2 separate regions of the Homo sapiens genome follow, and region 2 is linked to region 1. The links are contacts of gene promoters, found by promoter capture Hi-C in blood cells and fetal thymus (Javierre and others, 2016). All regions are on one chromosome and are shown on one strand. The core of a region is centred on a gene start or on the middle of the fragment in contact, and the rest is flanking DNA. Distances in the headings are between cores, read along the strand shown.

What was found. The method cuts DNA at HindIII sites, captures the fragments that hold promoters and counts their contacts. A CHiCAGO score of 5 or more calls a contact.
Region 2: a contact is called between a fragment that was not itself captured here and the fragment with the promoter of RTP3 in region 1, in 2 of 17 cell types (M0 macrophages and M1 macrophages). The highest score is 7.8, in M0 macrophages.

What each region holds. Positions count from the first base shown.
Region 1 is chr3:46,496,593-46,499,413 of GRCh38, forward strand. RTP3 (receptor transporter protein 3) reads left to right here and starts at 1,384. Exons shown (of 2, transcript NM_031440.2): 1 at 1,384-1,625. The coding sequence starts at 1,471. The HindIII fragment of the contact is 6,166 bases long and covers 1-2,821 here.
Region 2 is chr3:46,886,826-46,889,646 of GRCh38, forward strand. All of the region lies in intron 3 of PTH1R (parathyroid hormone 1 receptor), which reads left to right. Among named protein-coding and RNA genes, the nearest start is that of PTH1R, 11 kb to the left of the region's middle. RefSeq lists enhancers at 1,060-1,817, 1,818-2,575. The HindIII fragment of the contact is 250 bases long and covers 1,216-1,465 here.

The sequences.
Region 1 (2,821 bases), core at 134-2,633:
TGTCCCTAAAGTCAAAGGGAGGGAGTATGATAAGGTGTTTCCAACCTCCCCTCCTGTCATAGCTGGGAATTTAGTTTTTCAGGTTTCTCAGGGGTCCCCTTGGCCAAAAGCTAGTCCATTCAGTTGGTTTGGGGGCTTAGGAACTTATTTTTAGTTAGCAGTTTAAAATCAATAAAGTGTAACAACTATTTACATAGCATTTACATTGTATTAGGTATTATAAGTAATCTAGAGATCAATTAAAGTATACAGAAGGATGTGCATAGATTATATGCAAATACTATGTCATTTTGTATAAGGGACCTGAGCATCTGAGGATTTTGCTATCTGCAGGGGGCGCTGGAACCAATCCACCTGGAACTGAGGGACAGCTCTAATGCTGAGAAACAAAACTGGCTTGGAAAGAGGGGAGACCCAGGACTTGAGCCTGCCGAGGAGCTAAACCCAAGGGCAAGAGCTGCAGGCAGCTGGGCTGGAGAGGAGGAAGGAGGTGGCTTTGTTTCCAACTGCCCTGGAAGACCTCCTCATCCCCCTGCATCCCCAGCCTCCTTTCCTTTTTCCTTCCTGCTCTGCTCCCTTCCTTCCTCTCCTCCTCTTGGGAGGTGGCCAGGGACATAGGTCAGTGCCTGGCCCCGAGGAAGACACATGCAGTTTGTGGACGGGTCTTGGGATGCGGACACCCAGAGTCTTGTGCACCTTCCTGGAGTGTTGCCCACTCCAGTACCCACTCCCTAATCTCCCCTCTTCCTCCTCAATCCTCTCTTGCAGGAAGCAGAGGATGGAGAACCCCCTCAGGAAGGAGGGCAGTGACTCTGGGTTTGCCTAGGGCTAATGGCCTCTCACCGACCTGTGCCCTTGTACCTGTCGCCTGGGCAAACAGTGATTGCATCAGCTTTGGTTTCTCATGGGTGGGCAGCCTTGGCTGTCTGCCGGAACGTAAAGAGCATGGAGCAAGGACATGGGAATCCGAATCCCGCTGAGGTCCCAGGACCACTTCATCCTTCTTCCCTGTGCCTCTCCTCCCCAGCATGAGCACAGCAGCCTGATGGAGAAGGATTTTCCAATGTTAGAACTGGAAAGAACACCTGTAGCCTGTCTCCACCGTTTACAGTGGTGCTGGAAGTGAAAAGATGTGTTCCAGGTCACAGGCAGGTAGACAGCGGAGCCAGACTGAAATTCACTCCTCCTGATTTGGAGTTTAGAGCTCTTCTTTGGCAACATTTTGATGAATAAAATCACAAGTTCTGTGTCTTTTGAAATTCCTTGTGGAGCCTAGTGCCATCCTCTGAACTTGGAGCCAACTGACCTTTGTCCTTGGGGCAGAGACATGGTTCATGGGCCCAATCCAGGTCCTCAAAGGGAGGGCAGGTCTGAGTCCTTGCCCTCTGAAGTCAGAAACCTCATCTCCCACTACAGACCTGCCAGGGCCCAGGAGAGCTCGACCCACCCAGGCACACCATAGCCCCAGAGATGGCTGGGGACACAGAAGTGTGGAAGCAAATGTTTCAGGAGTTAATGCGGGAGGTGAAGCCATGGCACAGGTGGACCCTGAGACCAGACAAGGGCCTTCTTCCCAACGTCCTGAAGCCAGGCTGGATGCAATACCAGCAGTGGACCTTCGCCAGGTGAGGGGGAATGTGATGGTACACGTTCCAGAAAATTCTTGCACATTTCTTACTAGGTATACCTGTTACTTTTCTTGTTCTATTCTGTGCTTTCAAATTGAAGACTATGGGTAATAAGATGCCCATCATCCAAGAAGTTGTAACTTCATTAAAGATCGTTTTTTCACTATTACAATGAACCCCAAAGCAAGAGCAGGCCTGAGCACCCTTGTGAGCTAATGCCTGGATACAGAGAAATCAGTCTGTGGGGGTGGGGAGAGGGAGCAGCCAGGAAAGGGGAGGGGAGGAAGGGCAGCTGTTGCACCCACGGGCGGTGCATGTGCCCCATGCCTAGGGAGACTGCTGGACCCACCTTGGAGCCCCTAGGAGGAGAGACTCACGGCACTGAGCAGACACCCTCGGGGGAGGCCGGAGGAGCAGGGGGCCTGGGCAACAGGCAGCAATCCTGCCCCTCTCTACTCTGAGCTGATAGAATCTTTTTAAAATAGGAGTCTTAGAAATCATCCTAAGCCTCATCCTCTCTTTCCCAGGTGGAAATGGGGAGCCCCAAGGCTTGGGGCTGATTGCCCACAGTGCACAGAGGGTGGAGGCCGGGTCCCACCCGCTGTCCCCTCCCAGGGAGAGTCTACATAGAGGGGGCAGAGCTCTCCCACTGGCCTATGGCTATCCCAGGCCAGGAGCTGCCATAGGGAGCATTGCACCAAAGTCTCAGTCCATTTATCCATGGGAAGTTTGAACTCTGAACAAGCACAGGAACAGAGCACTGAGACCCAGGGGATGGCAGTGGACTTCTGCTCAGAACAGGGCCCAGGCCCCTCTGCACTGCTGACTCTGGGTGACTCCCAGCAAGGTCCTCTCACAGTGATCACAGCTTCTTGGCCTCTCCCTCTCATTTCAACCTTGCATTCACCCTGTGGGTTGCGGCTAGAGTCAAGATACAGGAGCACACCCTGGACTAACTCCCTCTTCCCAGCCCCCTCCAATTCACCACCTGCAGCCTAATTTCTCTGTATCCAGGCATCGGGGGCTCAGCCACAGTGACAAATAAACCTGGAAATATCACTGATTTAACCTTACACGTGGCTCCCAAGGTCACCGAAGCAGAGGAGGAGAGAGCTGGAATGTCTTACCAAGGCTTCTGTGACCATATCTGGAAGGAACATATATCACTGCTGGCCTCATCTCATTGCCCAACT
Region 2 (2,821 bases), core at 91-2,590, 390 kb after region 1:
GATTTGAACCCAGATCTTTAGACCTTTGCACTGAATTCCTTCCTCAAAAGCAGCACGAGATTTGCTGCTGGCAGGAGATCCTCATGTCTCACTCTGGGTTTTCTCTTTCTTTTTTCTTTTTTAAAAATTAAATCATGGCCGAGTGCAGTGGCTCACACCTGTAATCCTAACACTTTGGGAGGCCGGGCAGATCACCTGAGGCCAGGAGTTCGAGACCAGCCTGGCCAACATGGTGAAACCCCCATCTCTACTAAGAATACAAAAATTAGCCACGCGTGGTGGTACGTGCCTGTAATCCCAGCTTATTGGAAGGCTGAGGCAGGAGAATCGCTTGAACCCAGGAGGCAGAGGTTGCAGTGAACCGAGATCACGCTGCTGCACTCCACCCTGGGCGACAGAGGCTCTGTAAAAAAGAAAAAAAAAATTAAATCCTTCTGTTATTTTGTTAATTTTTAACTTCACAACTGATATATGAATATGTTCTTATAAAAGAGTCAAACAAGTCTGTAATCCCAGATACTTGAGAGGCTGAGGAGGGAGAATTGCTTGAGCCCAGAAGTTCAAGGCTGCAATGAGCTACGATCATGCCACTTCACTCCAGCCTGGGTGACAGAGTGAGCCCCTGTCTCTGAAAAAAAAAAAAAAAAAAAAAGAGAGAGAGTCAATCAATAAAAATTAAACAGAAGCCCTCCTTGATCACTCCCAAGCCCCAGTTCCCTTCTAGGGAAAACCATTTTTAGCAGTTTGGGTAGAGGGGCGTTCTCCTTCCTCTTTCTGTGTGTTTCCAAATGGTACCTCTTTGTGTACATATCAAGTAGATAATTTTGTCATTTTCTATTTGTCTGGTTGTTTTTAAATAAATGGCATCGGTTTCTAGATAGGGCTCTGCCACATACATATTTTGACGTAAATGTGTGTCTTAGAGATCTTCATTTCAGTAAATATGAATCTATATTTTTAAATGCTGCATAGTATTCCAAAACCTGGGACTCATTAAGTAGTCCATAGGAATGTACATTTAGATCATTTCTGCATAATTTGTGTGTGTGTCTATATGTGCGTGATTCCAGATGGTGGCAGGGAAGCTCCTTGAAATGCCCTCTAGTGTCCCCATGTGACTATTTCCTAGTAGGATATTTCTAGATTTTGTCATTGCTGGGCCTGAGAATATACATATTTTTTATTTTAATAGCATGGCCAAATTGCCCTCTAAAAAGCTTGTGCTGCTTTGTACTTATACAACACCAAGACCAACCAGGAGGGCCTCTCTGCCCACACCCACTGTCTCATAGGATGTTAAGAGGATTCTTTGTGTTTCACCTTTGCTTGGATAGGTGAAAATGGTGTCTCTTGTCATTTTAATTTGCTGATTACCAGTGACTTCTGGGCTTTACAGTGAGAGCTTGCTCGGGGCCATTAACCATCATTCTATGGGTTATTTGTCTTTTTCGTATTGATTTGTTGAAGCTTTTTATATCACCTGCTCTTAAACACATTCACCTCAGCTCTTGAAACGGCTTATGGACAGAGCAGCAGGAGGGTGCCGAGCCCTCCGAGGAACTGGGGTTTTCTTCGGAATGTTTTAATGAGGCGTCAAGTAGCCTCCCTCAGATTCCTGTTGTGGGCCTTCTGGGGACACTCCCTGGTCCAGCCACCACATCAGGAAGGCAGCTATTTCAGAAGGAGAGTCCTCAGGAAAAAGAAAAGGTGGGGCGAGGGTTTTGCAGACCTCTGAAATTGTCTGCAAAATACGGTGTGATTGGGAGAAGGGCGCAAACTTTTGCTCAGGTTTGCAGAAACATCAGAGACCTTCAAACCCTTAAAAGCCCCAACTCTGGGGCCAGTCTTATGCCCGAGGTGAGACCTAGTGGGATCCCATTCTGCTGAGCAGGCGATGGCTTAGATTAGGCCATACTGTTCTTCTGGGCCTTGATTCCTCAACCCAAGTAGGGCCTGCTTATGAAGATCCACCAGGTCGTAGCAGCCAACTCCGCTATCCCAGGCTGCATCCCACTGCCTGCCCCGAAGGCGGCCACGCTGGCTGGCCAGGATGAGAGGCGTCACAGTGCCTCTTCCCCCCCAGCCCCTCCCAGCCCCAAACACAGGCAGCCTGTTCAGGAAAGCCTGGCGAAGGGGAGGAAAAGTCAGCACTTGTCAGCGGTGGCGGGGCAGGACGAGGAGCCTGCTCAGGCCAGCCGGACAGAGAGAGGGCAGCAGGGGTGGGGGAGCAGTCCCAGCCAGCTGGCACGGGAGACATCCAGGGGTGCCAGCATGGGTCCCAGTAGTAGAACCTGGAGGAGGGCTGTAGGAAGGCCAGGAGGTCATGAAGGGGTCTCCTGTTAGCCAGGGTTTTCTCCTTCTGGCTGTGCTGGAGGCATCAACGGCCTGGTTCCCAACACCAGAGCCCAACTGTCCTCTACCCAGTTACAGCTGGGGACAAGCCGCCATCACTGGCATCACCGGCACCTTTATGTCTACACACCTCTGCTCCTAAATCGGCTTCGGGGAGGCTGCCTTAGGGGATCTGCAAAGGGAGACTTGCTTAATGTAGCAGCTAAAATCCAGGATTATGGAAAGATGATACCGTGGCTGGTGCCAGGGTACCCGTGTGGCTGGGCACTTCCTCCTCTCTTTCCCTTCTTCCAAGGCTGCTGCTTCAGTGTCAAGCAGATCTTAGCTCCATCCCTGGCCCTCCTCTTTCTGTGACTCTTGGCCTCAGTGTCCCTGTCTGTAAAATGGGGATGTGGTAGAAGGTGCAGGAGGCATGGGTTTTAAAGCTCCTTGCTGACCATGGGGAGGATGTGCTACAGTGGAGGGTATT